2 separate regions of the Homo sapiens genome follow, and region 1 is linked to region 2. The links are contacts of gene promoters, found by promoter capture Hi-C in blood cells and fetal thymus (Javierre and others, 2016). All regions are on one chromosome and are shown on one strand. The core of a region is centred on a gene start or on the middle of the fragment in contact, and the rest is flanking DNA. Distances in the headings are between cores, read along the strand shown.

Region 1 (5,888 bases), core at 820-3,319, 2.2 Mb after region 2:
CCCTTACAAAATCAAAGTTGACAGTTAACTGACATAATGGCACTGACTGATGGAGGGGTTATATGCCCCTGGAAGCTCATTAAATTTATTTCTTGGCCTGTTTATGTGCCTTCACAAACCATACCCCACACCTCTCCCAGCCCTTTGCTTGCTGGTACTTTCTGCTGCTGGGGTTAAAATGCTGGATAAGAGGAAAAGGGATAAAAGAAACTAGAAACTTAGGGTGATCAAGAAGAAAAGGTAGGAAGAGGGCAGATTATGGGAACAAAGGTGGAAACTCAGAGCTCATGGGAAACAGATGGAAAAAAGGGGTGAAGCAAAATGGGGAAATAAAAAATATACAATGATACAGTGGGGGAAGGGAGTAAAATTAAGTCAGCAGGGAAGAGGTTTTGTTGTGCGAAGCTCCTGGAAAGGCAGATGACACGCATGAGACCAGAAGGTGAGGTTCTGATGAGGGAGACAGGCACATGGCAAAGGGGACAGTCAACAATGCTAGGAAGTTCCAAAGCTTCTCTGGTGATGGTGGAAGAGGAGGCTGTCCTGGCCATGCTGAAGGCACTAGAGGCTTTGGCGAAGACACATTTGCTCCATCATCCCACTCCTCCAGGCCCTGACTGTGACCACCACAATCATGACTGATAAGCAAATTCCAAAGTAGCCTGAAAAGGCCAGAGATATCCAGACAGACTCTGAAGGAGAGGGCATGGAATCCTAGACCGACAGAACAGGCAGCCAAGGCGTGACACATAGTGATAGAGACACACAAGGAGAGGATCACTCAGATGGGAAGGGTCACAAGTGGAGACAGTGACATACAGATCCAGAGATGGATGGGATGGAAGAGACAAGATGAAGAACAGCAAAACCAAAAGTCAGGGACACATGGACAGAGATCAGCGGGGCTACAGGCACAGCGAGGAAGCGTGGTCCTGTGCTTGAAAATGATAGGGCTGCTCAGAGGGGCAGACGAGCGGATGGGGGTGGTAGGATGGGCGTGCAGGACAGACACGCTTCACCTTGAATGGGCTTATGGCCTCCCCTCACCTACTCAACACTTTCAAAAAAAGGAATGGAAAGCCCAACTTCAGCCAAAAACGAACGAAGACTGAGAGTATCCACGTCCCCTCCCACTCCACGCCCCAGCGCGCTAGCCCATCCATCAGCCCGCCGGCCGCGGTTCTCCCATCCCACAGCCGGCGGGGGGCCGCCGAGACCCAGGACCCTCCAGGCTGACAGCTCTGAGCCCTCACACTCACCGGGCCTCCCCTTCCCCCCGGGATCCCCGCTCCCTGCCCAACTCGGCGCGGTCCGTCTAGGCTTTCCATACCCTTCGTCTGTCCGGCGGGCCTCTGCCTTTCCCGTTCCCGTTTCTCCCTCCACCCCCGCATCTCTCTTCCCCCATCCTCGCGCACGCCCTCTTCCTCCCACACCCCTGTCTGCTATCTCCCAGGGCTCTCGGTCTGTCTGTCCGTCCGTCCTTGTCCCCTCCCCCAGCCCCTTCCCGTCCCTCTCCGTCCCCTCCAGCGGCAGTCTCCAAGCGCCTCCTCTCCCGTCTCGAGCTTCCAAAGAGCAAGGAAGGGAAGAAGAGAGAGAGGGAGAGGAGAAAAAAACCAACCCAGCAGCATCGGAAATCGATGCACTTACACCTCAGCTGGAAGCAGGGACGGGAGTCGAACCGCGGCCACCGAGCAGCGCGAGGCGGGGAGGGGAGGGGGCGGCTCTTGGAAGGGACTTCTCCGATGTGTTGATTCCTCTTTTTTCCCCTCCTCCTCCCTCCCTCCAGCGCTCGCTCCGGGGCGTCAGGGACGGAGACGGAAAAAAATAAATAAATAAATTCACGGCGGTGAGGGAAGTGAAGGAAAATAATCAATGCTATTTGGCTGCGGCTGAAGTGTTTCCCCGGCTTCGTGAGGGGGTTTCCATTGATTCACCCTGGGCACTCGCTCGCTCCCTGCCTCCTCCTCCTCCTCCTCCTTCTCCTCCTCGCCCTCCTCCTCCTCCTCCTCCTCGCCCTCACTCCTCCGCCTCATTCACTGGCTGGAGTCTAGGCGTCCCACACAATGGAATAATCAATACCCAGGCGCCCGGGGCTGCCCCACTGAGCAGGTGCAGCGACCCGCCCGCCGCGGCGCATGCCGGGAGTTGTAGTCTGTTCGCGCCCGCCCGCCTGCCTCGCGGGACCCAGGGCCGGGGGCAGGCCGGCCAGCCCACCAGGTCGCCTCCAGGTTCAAGCCGGTGCCTGCAAAGAGGGCAGGCCCCTTTAAACTCTTTTCCGTCTCCTCTCCTCTTCATCCTGTGGCCTGCAGAAACCATACATGTGTTTTGTTGTTTTGTTTTAAATCAGCTTCAGAACAAGCCCTGAGCCGCCCAAGGCCTCCTTTTTTCATTCTCTTCTTCCTGCCTTATTATTCCGCCTCCCCCATCTCCCCCCGCGAAATTGGGTACTAGAACCTTCTCTACCGCAGCAATTACTCTTTAGTCTCTGAGAGCTTCTGCCTCCTCCACACGGTTACATAGTCCCCTGAGCTGGGTTGGGGGAGGTTCGGGCTCCTCCTCATCTTCAGTTTATCGCTTATTAAGTGCTCCTGAATTTTTTTTTTTTTTTTTTTTCTGGAGACGGAGTCTCACTCAGTCGCCCAGGTTGGAGTGCAGTGGTGCGATCTCGGCTCACTGCAACCTCCACCACCGGGTTCAAGCGATTCTCCTACCTCAGCCTCCTAAGTAGCTGGGATTACAGGCATGCATCAACACACCCAGCTAATTTTTGTATTTTTAGTAGAGACGGGGTTTCACCACGTTGGTCAAGCTGGTCTCGAACTCCTGACCTTGTGATCCGCCTGCCTCGGCCTCCCAAAGTGCTGGGATTACAGGTGTGAACCACCACCGCGCCCAGCCCGTTTTTTTGTTTGTTTGTTTTTTTCTTGAGACAGAGTCACTCTGTCGCCCAGGCTGCAGTGCAGTGGCATGATCCCGGCTCACTGCAACCTTCACCTCCCAGGTTCAAGTGATTCTCCTGCCTCAGCCTCCCAAGTAGCTGGGATTGTAGGTGCCCACCACCATGCCCTGCTAATTTTGTATTTTTAGTAGAGACGGGGGTTTCACCATCTTAGCCAGGCTGGTCTCGAACTCCTGACCTCAGGTGATCCACCGGCCTCAGCCTCCCAAAGTCCTGGGATTATAGGGGTGATCCACCTCACCCGGCCGCTCCTGTATTCTAATAATAATTTTTAAGATTTCTTGAATGCACAGGGACAGTTCCAAGCACTTTTACATACATTGTTTACTCCTCTCAATACCTCAAGCATGAGGTAGATGCTATTATAGTCTCATTTATTGAGGAAACTAAGGCACAAACAAGTGAATTAACAGGCCCAAGGTCCAATGGCCAATAAGTAAGTGACAGTGCCAGGACTCAAAAACCTCCATGGTCTGGCTCCAGGGCCCATACTAACTGCTATAGCCTACTTCTCTTAAACAACACAACAAAACCCTGAAGTTCACATGACAAAAAGGAGAGATAAATGAACATTTTGAGTTTATACTATGTGACAGTTTATGACTGAATCCTCACAGGTAACTGTGAGGCAGGCCACATTTTCTCAATGAAAAAGCAGAGGCTGGCCGGGCATGGTGGCTCACTCCTGTAATCCCAGCACTTTGGGAGGCTGAGGTGGGTAGATCACCTGAGGTCAGGAGTTCGAGACCAGCCTGACCAACATGGTGAAACCCTGTCTCTACTAAAAATACAAAATTAGCTGGGCGTGGTGGTGGGCACCTGTAATCCCAGCTACTCGGGAGGCTGAGGCAGAAGAATCGCTTGAACCCGGGGGGCAGAGGTTGCGGTGAGCCAAGATCACACCATTGCACTCCAGCCTGGGCAACAAGAGTGAAACTCCGTCTCAAAACCAAAAACAGGCCGGGCGTGGTGGCTCACACCTGTAATCCCAGCACTTTGGGAGGTGGAGGCGGGTGGATCACAAGATCAGGAGATCGAGACCATCCTGACTAACAGGGTAAAACCCCATCTCTACTAAAATTACAAAAAATTAGCCGGGCATGGTGGTGGGCACCTGTAGTCCCATCTACTTGGGAGGCTGAGGCAGGAGAATGGCATGAACCCTGGAGGCGGAGCTTGCAGTGAGCCGAGATGGCGCCACTACACTCCAGCCTGGGCGACAAAGCGAGACTCCGTCTCAAACAAACAAACAAACAAAAATTAGGAGGGTGGGGTGGCACGTGCCTGTAGTCCCAACTACTCAGGAGGCTGAGGCGGGAGAATCATTTGAACCCAGGAGGCAGAGGTTGCAGTGAGCTGAGACGCCAGAGTGAGACTCTGTCTCAAAAAAAAAAAAAAAAAAAAAAAAAAAGCAGATGCTTAGGAAAGTGGAGTAGCTTGCGGAAGGCCAAACATCTAGAAAGTGAAGCTGGGAGTCGACCTCAGGTCTGGCTCCGGAAACTGGTCTTTCTGTTCAAATAAGCTGCTGCTTTTGCCCCACTGGATTGGATCTTATAACATAAGGAAAAATTAGGTCTTCATCCCAGGTTAACAAAACCGGAAAGCAAAAGATGGATGAAAAGCAGGCTTTAGGAGCTGGGGTTTCTTCTCTCCCTAACCAACAGTGCTTAACATGGAGTGGGGACAGAGGTTGACCCAAGCTACTCCAAGTTCAAGATGCCATTTGTTTATTTATTTATGCACAGGGTCTTGCTCTGTTGCCGAGGCTGGAGTGCAGGCAGTAGCAGGATCGTAGCTCACTGCCCTTGACCTCCTGGGCTCAAGCTATCCCGCTGCCTCAACCTCCTGAGCAGCTGGGACCACAGGCATGCACTACCACACCCGGCTAATTAAAATTTTTTTTTTTTTTTTTTTGTAGAAACAGGGTCTTCCTATGTTGCCCAGGCTGGTCTCAAACTCCTGGCCTCAAATGATCCTCCTGCCTCGACCTCCCAAAGTGCTAGGATTACAAGTGTGAGTCAACACACCTGGCCAAAATGCCATGTCTTTAAACCAGTGTCCTTCTCCCTATAATACCTCTCACTGGTCATGTATTTCCAGAAACATACTGGTGAGAGGGCAGGTGTTGAGAACATGGCACTTCTCACCCATCATAGGAAGGAGTCCAGGAGTTAAGAGCCACGGTTCCTCAGGGAGCTTCCTCACATGGAAGGTCAGACATATAGTTAGAGTCTCCAGATAACCATAGTCCTCAGAGGGAGTAAGAAGGAATCATCTCTATTAATATTTTGTCTCCCAAAGCATTCAAAGGGCCAACCCCCATGTTTTCCTGAATTTTATTTTTTTGGGGACAGATGGAGTCTCGTTCTGTCGCCCAGGCTGGAGTGCAGTGGCGCCATCTCAGCTCACTGCAACCTCTGCCTCCCAGGTTCAAGCAATTCTCATGCCTCAGCCTCTGGAGTAGCTGGGAACACAAGCACGCGCCACCATGCCCGGCTCATTTTTGCATTTTTAGTAGAGACGGCGGGCCGGGGGGGTTTCTCCATGTTGGCCAGGCTGGTCTCGAACTCCTGACCTCAGGTGATTCACCTGCCTCGGCTTCCCAAAGTGCTGGGATTGCAGGTGTGAGCAACCGCACCGGCCTTTCTGTATTCTAAATGAACATAAGTAGTTCTACACCTGACAAAAACTGCTTAGGGACCGCTGGAAACTCTGACAAACTCCTCAGTCTAGCACTCAAGGCTTTTCCCTCAACTGCATTTCTAGCCTCGTCTTCTCCTTACGTACCACCCAGGTGCTCTCCAGTTTCTGGGCCTTTGCTTAGGCTATTCCTGTCTCCATCTAGGTCTCCAACTGTTGAAATACCATCATATCTTTAGTTCCTGGCCAAAATACCACTTTATTCTCTGACAGAAAGTTTCTCACCCAC
Region 2 (5,911 bases), core at 1,764-4,263:
ATTCTAATAATACAGAGAAGGTGCTGCAAATCCTTTCTGCTCTTAGCAGCTCTCACTTAAAACATAAGAGGCAAGACTGGATCTAGACTCAAACCTCCAGGAGTCATAAAACAATAGTACGTTCTAAGGTCTCCTGTTGATTTTTGACTGACTCCATTTTCCCATCTCTAAAATGACACGATTTACTTAGATACAGGGCTTAATATTTTTGAAATTTCTATTCAGTTAAAAGTACATGGTAACTACAATTGTTTTTAGGACATAAGTTATGAAAATTATAATTAAAAAATATTTTATTTGCAATAGCCTCAAAATATGTACCTAACTGAAAATTAACTTGCAGATAGGTAAGGTTAATTCCTATTCTTATTTTTAAAAAAGGGAAGAAAAAGCTTAGTAGCCTATCAGTTCTCTACAACCCTGTGTACTTGTATTTGGACTGCTGGAACTACCAGGTTCAACCACTACAGCTTTTAAGGGCTTATAATCAAGAGTATTTAAAATTAAAAGTGGGTTTGGAGCCCAAATCATTTTTTAGTTAATTTTAGTCATAACAGTTTTTTTTTTTAAGATGGAAGCTGAAAGCAAAAGGCTTGGGATTTATTTTTTTTTTTTTTAATTTATTTTTTAAAGACGGGGTCTCATCCAGGCTGGAGTGCAGTGATGCGATTACAGCTCACTGCAGCCTCAAACTCCTGGGCTCAAGGGATCCTTCTGCCTCAGCATCACAAGTAGCTAGGACTATAGGCACACACCACCATGCCTGGTTAATTTATTTGCCTTTTTTTTTTTTTTGTAGAGACGGGGGTCTCATCATCTTGCCCAGGCTGGTCTTTAACTCCTGGCCTCATGTGCTGGGTACAGGCATGAGTCACGGTGCCCAGCCAGGTTTGGAATTTTTACCATTAACTTCAACTTATTCTATTTCAATCCCAGTTTTCTTATTAAAAAAAGGAAAAGGTGTAAAAGAGAAAAGTTATACAACACACCTATATATCCCACTATCTTTCTGCTATATCCAGGAGGATAAGCGACTAGATTTAACCCAGAAAACTACTATCTCTGATTAAGTGTATCAGAATGAAAGCACTGTAGGGTGAAAAGACTGCATACACAAAGAACTTCTACAGGTGGGTTCTGGACACATTAACACAAAAGCAGAAAGTCTTATTCAAGTAAGTTTTTCATAATAGCCACAGGTTTTGTTAACTGGTACATTTTTACATAGATTTGGCTCATAACTTTACACCATCAGTGTCTTATCAATATCTAACATTCTCCCAAGATGATGTCATTAAGGTAGTAAGAGGGCCAAGATAAACTTTAAAGATTTTTGAGATACAAAAAAAAATGGTGGGTGGGAAATAACTTTCATGGATTTAAAGACTATCAGTTTTATTAGGTTTGCCAACCTGTCTTCAGGCCACAGTTAATTTGTCATGTAGAGGAAGTGAGAGCTATAGATTAGTTTTCATGAATGGTATAGAGAGAATGAAATTATTTGATGAATCTGAATCACTGGGACTAGAAACAATTTTCATACCAAAGGTTCACAGTTTCAGGGTTTATGGGTACAAGAGAGGGCTTCGGATTTTTAGTACTTACTGATCATTAGAAAGTATCAAGGTTTTAAAATGTTTTTCTAACATCGATTATGTTTGAATAATATGACACTGAGAGAAGCTGCAAAAAATCATTTGGTAGAAATTAATCAAAAAATTAAAAAAAATAAAATGTTCAGTATTCATCTAGCATTTAGTTCTTATTTTTCCTTTTCATAAAATGCAAGAGAATCAATTTTATTTTCAATTATCTAATGTATTTAGCCCCAAAAGATGAAACATGCACAGACAGCTTTAATATGAATGGCAAGGAAACGACCAATTTTAATGGCTTGGTTTTAGTAGATGACCAGTTTGAAAGATAATTTACAATGCTGAAATGAGAGCTGATCATTTTTCTCAAAACGTTTTTCAGGTTAAAAAAAAATCTTTATTAGCTGTATCTTCCCTTGATGACAGGGTTCAGGGGCAAGACTTAAGCTAGCCAACTCAGACTGCATCACAGAATGCAACCAAATGTTTGCTCAATTAGTAAGTTAACATCATAAAAATAAGTTTTAACTGTGGACGTTTTTAGAGCAGCAAAACTGCCGAATCTTTAAAAAACTGGGAACTGCCACAGCTCTTTTAATGAACACGTGCCCCGGATACGCTACCAAGGAACTAATAAGGTTTTAGGCATCGTTTTGTTTTGTTTTGTTATTACTAATGCCTGCAGGCTTTCAGCGTTAGGTCCCTCTCTGTAACCCACAGCAGGGCCTAGAACATGAGGCGGTTGCGCGTGAGCAGTATTTCTTTTTTTAACTCCAGCAAAAGCCCCGCAAACGATAAACGCTAAAAGCCCGATTGACATCCTCCTTGCCCTTCCATCTCTCCTTTACGAAGACGGTTATAATCCTGGCGGGACCAGGGGTGGAATATTGTGGTTCTGGAGGGACAGAGCGAGTGCGTGAGAACACGGCAGGGGAGGGCAGCAAGACGTGACCACGGAGTAGGAGGGAAGGATGTTGCCTCTTCTAGGGCGGGAAGAGACTGCGAGAGGTGCTGCTATGCATGACCAAGGCTGGCACGCGGGGAAGATGGTGATGGCCGCAGGACAGGGTGAATGCGGGGGATTCCCTGTTAAGGGGCAGCGTTCGTGGCCGCCTCCGGTGAATGATTCGGGAGCAACGAAAAGGGTGAGGCACAGAACCCGGGAATTCCTGACCGAAAGAGAAAAAAGGGCGCCGAGAAACAGGGTTATTATGGGATGGCTAAGGGGGCTCCCTAGGAAAAATTACAGGATCTTCCTCACCCGCCAATTGCTGTACAGTCTCTTCACTCGCCGATAATAAGCGTCTTTGTCCAGAGTCACAGCCATAGCCCCGGACGCCGCTTCTCCTCGGGTTCCGAGAATCACGCGAGGTCCCGGCTCAGCCACCCGCTCTCGGCCCAGGAATCCCGCACTCTCCCAATGACCCGGAAGTATCGACCTCAAAGATGCCCTTTCCGCTTCCGGGTCCCAACAGCGTTAGGTTTTTTTTTTGTTTGTTTGTTTGTTTTGTTTTTTTCCAACCCTCTTTCGGATGGACGGGGGAAAGAGAGAAAGAAAAACGAGGGAAAATCAACAAAATGTGCGATGCAAAGAGTCGATTTTCGCGGGGTTTGTCAACTTCGCCACTGCCGCACGCGAATCGACGTCGTCACGTGACGGTCTGCCTCCGCCCTTATTAACTCTCAGCCCAGCGGCGGTTTCCAGGACCTCAGACTTTTTGCCGAGGCGGCAGTCCCTAGACGAAGCGAAGGAGGCGGCGCCTGCCCCGCCCACAAGAGCTGCCGCGCGCGGGTGTTATAGCTCCACCCCATCTGCAAAGGAAGGGGGAGCGGAAAGAGCGGGATCTAGCGTGGGATAAAAGTGGGACTACTACAGTGTAACTGGGCATGCGCCCCTCCTAGAAATGATGGGAATGCAAAAGCCCTTGACTGCTCCAGGACTCGAGGGATCCTCGGTGCCAGGATGCTGGGTCAAGCGCTCCGCCGGGACAGAGGACTCATACCAGGGAAATGGAGCCCAGCCTCGTGATAAACTACGACCCAAGCTGGGGGAGGAACCTAGTTTTCGAAAGGAAAATAATATGCGCAAGCTTTAACTGAGCAGTGGGATGGTGTAAGTCAGAGGAAACAGATGACTTGAGGGGCTCTACAAACTTTTAGTTCCTTCCCACAACCCCACCCCCTGAGCCCAAGTCGCGGCAGCATCCTTCCAGTCGGCCAGTCCCCTTGCTGCAGTTCATGAAAACTGGCACTATTCTATGGCTTCCCCCAAATAACCGTTACTTCAGTTAATTAGAAACAAAACATAAATGGTTCCTGATGACATTCTTGCTCCCTGTCTCTTCTAAAAACTTGGAGTTTGAATCCAGAAGTTTGCCTACCTACCATTTACCTTAAATAATTCCCTTGCCTTTAGCCAGCTGGACAGTCTACATTTGTATATACCCTTTAGAGGAGTACAGATGACTTGTCTGCTGTAAGGCAATTTAGTATAAACAGTATTGAACTTAAGGAAAGTGGTGCTGAAATTACCCACCATTAACAACTCAAAATCAATACACTGGGTTTGAGCAAACATAGAACAAAGGAAGAGTGGAAAAGGATTAACTTAAATTTATTAATGCCAAGGGGAAAGAAGGTAACAGTTCCTGACCCTCCAGCTGTATCCACAGTTCGGCCAGGAACAGGCTCTGCCAGAGGCTAGGGCCAGCGCTACATAGTCTGTGGTTAATGGAGGTGACTAGGGAGGGGTGAGCACACCAGCTGCTCTAGTCTCCTTTCCTTCCCCAGAAATGAGGAAGTGGTCATGTATTATTTTAGGAGTTCCCCTGCCCACCCAATCCTCTCATAATTGGGAGCAATCAGGTACATTTTTTTTTTTTTTTCCTTTTCACCTCCTGGAGTCCTGGACTTCCCCACATCTCCCCTGCCCCTCCCACGTTTCCATAGTCCAAGGGCCAGAGTAAATGAAAATACAGCAGCCGCCCAAGCAATGGGGCCCATGCTGGGGCTTCAGTCATCAGCATCTTCACTGGAGTCTGAGTTAGCTGGCATCATAGGATCATCAATGAGTGAGAAGTCCCTTTCTGAGCTATCATAGCCCTGAGATAAGTCATCATCATCTTCTTCATCCTCATCGTCATCCTCCTCAGGTTGCAGTGGTGGCAACCGCAAGGTAGTACCAGAGGCGGTAGTCACTGGTGAAGAGGGGTAGCCAGGGGCTCTCAAGCCTGGATGGTGATGGTGGTGATGGTGGGGGTGGGGGTGGTGGTGGTGGTGATGAAGCATGGTGCTGGAGTCTACATGAGGGGATGATGGTGCACCACCCATCACAAATGGCATAAAAGGCAAAGATGCAGAAGTGGCACTGCTGTGACCCAAAGATGACACAGACTGTAGGCCACTACTGCTGTGTTGGAACGTGTTATGCAGAGATAGAGACCCAGTGCTTCCACCCTGCATGAGGGCCATCATCTTAGAAAGGTCTGGTCGCATCCTACGGGCCCGCTTCTTGCTGCTCTCTGGTGCAATAGGCCCTGGCAAAACCCGGTTGAACACCGTTTCAGTGTGATGACCCTAGGAGGAGGGAATAGAAGATAATAAAAAGAAAGAAAGGGGAAAAAAGAAAAGAAACCAAAGCCAACAGAGTCCTAGCTTACAATGCTTTTTTACTGAATGTACCTTAGAAGAGGCAAAACAAGCACAGCGATACTAGGCTTGATTGGTGGTAATGGGAAGGAGGAAATGCTGGACTTAGCTGGTTGAAACATTCTGATACTAAAGTTAAGATCAATGATTTTGTACCGAAACTCATATTAACCAGTTTTTGCTTCTTTTCCCCATGACTATATTGTATCTTTACTTTAGTCAACCATTTCACAAATGCTTACCTTTGTTAAGAAGGGGTCTGGGTAAGACAATGAATTAGTAAATGCACATAAAAAAAATCACTTGTGACCGGGCGCGGTGGCTCACGCCTGTAATCCCAGCACTTTGGGAGGCCGAGGCGGGGGAATCACAAGGTCAGGAGATCGAGACCATCCTGGCTAACACGGTGAAACCCGGTCTCTACTAAAAATGCAAAAAATTAGCTGGGCAAGGTGGCGGGCGCCTGTAGTCCCACAGCTACTCGGGAGGCTGAGGCAGGAGAATGGTGTGAACCCGGGAGGCAGAGCTTGCAGTGAGCCGAGATCGCGCCACTGCACTCCAGCCTGAGCGACAGCGAGACTCCGTCTCAAAAAAAAAAAAAAAATCACTCGTGTCTCCTGATGGCAAGTTGTTCACTTGTTCTTACTATGTGAATTGACATTTACAAT

The links. The method cuts DNA at HindIII sites, captures the fragments that hold promoters and counts their contacts. A CHiCAGO score of 5 or more calls a contact.
Region 1: a contact is called between the fragment with the promoter of ZFHX2 here and the fragment with the promoter of SUPT16H in region 2, in 1 of 17 cell types (non-activated CD4 T cells). The highest score is 5.2, in non-activated CD4 T cells.

The regions. Positions count from the first base shown.
Region 1 is chr14:23,549,696-23,555,583 of GRCh38, forward strand. ZFHX2 (zinc finger homeobox 2) reads right to left here and starts at 2,070. Exons shown (of 10, transcript NM_033400.3): 1 at 1,648-2,070. It also overlaps a transcript of THTPA not described here. RefSeq lists enhancers at 862-1,524, 2,374-2,423 and a silencer at 2,004-2,243. The HindIII fragment of the contact is 16,619 bases long and covers 510-5,888 here.
Region 2 is chr14:21,381,006-21,386,916 of GRCh38, forward strand. It overlaps SUPT16H (SPT16 homolog, facilitates chromatin remodeling subunit), which reads right to left and starts at 3,014. Exons shown (of 26, transcript NM_007192.4): 1 at 2,857-3,014. The coding sequence starts at 2,922. It overlaps CHD8 (chromodomain helicase DNA binding protein 8), which reads right to left. Exons shown (of 38, transcript NM_001170629.2): 38 at 4,194-5,171. The coding sequence ends at 4,608. LOC107984643 (a long non-coding RNA gene) reads left to right here and starts at 3,268. Exons shown (of 2, transcript XR_001750627.2): 1 at 3,268-3,708. The HindIII fragment of the contact is 3,293 bases long and covers 391-3,683 here.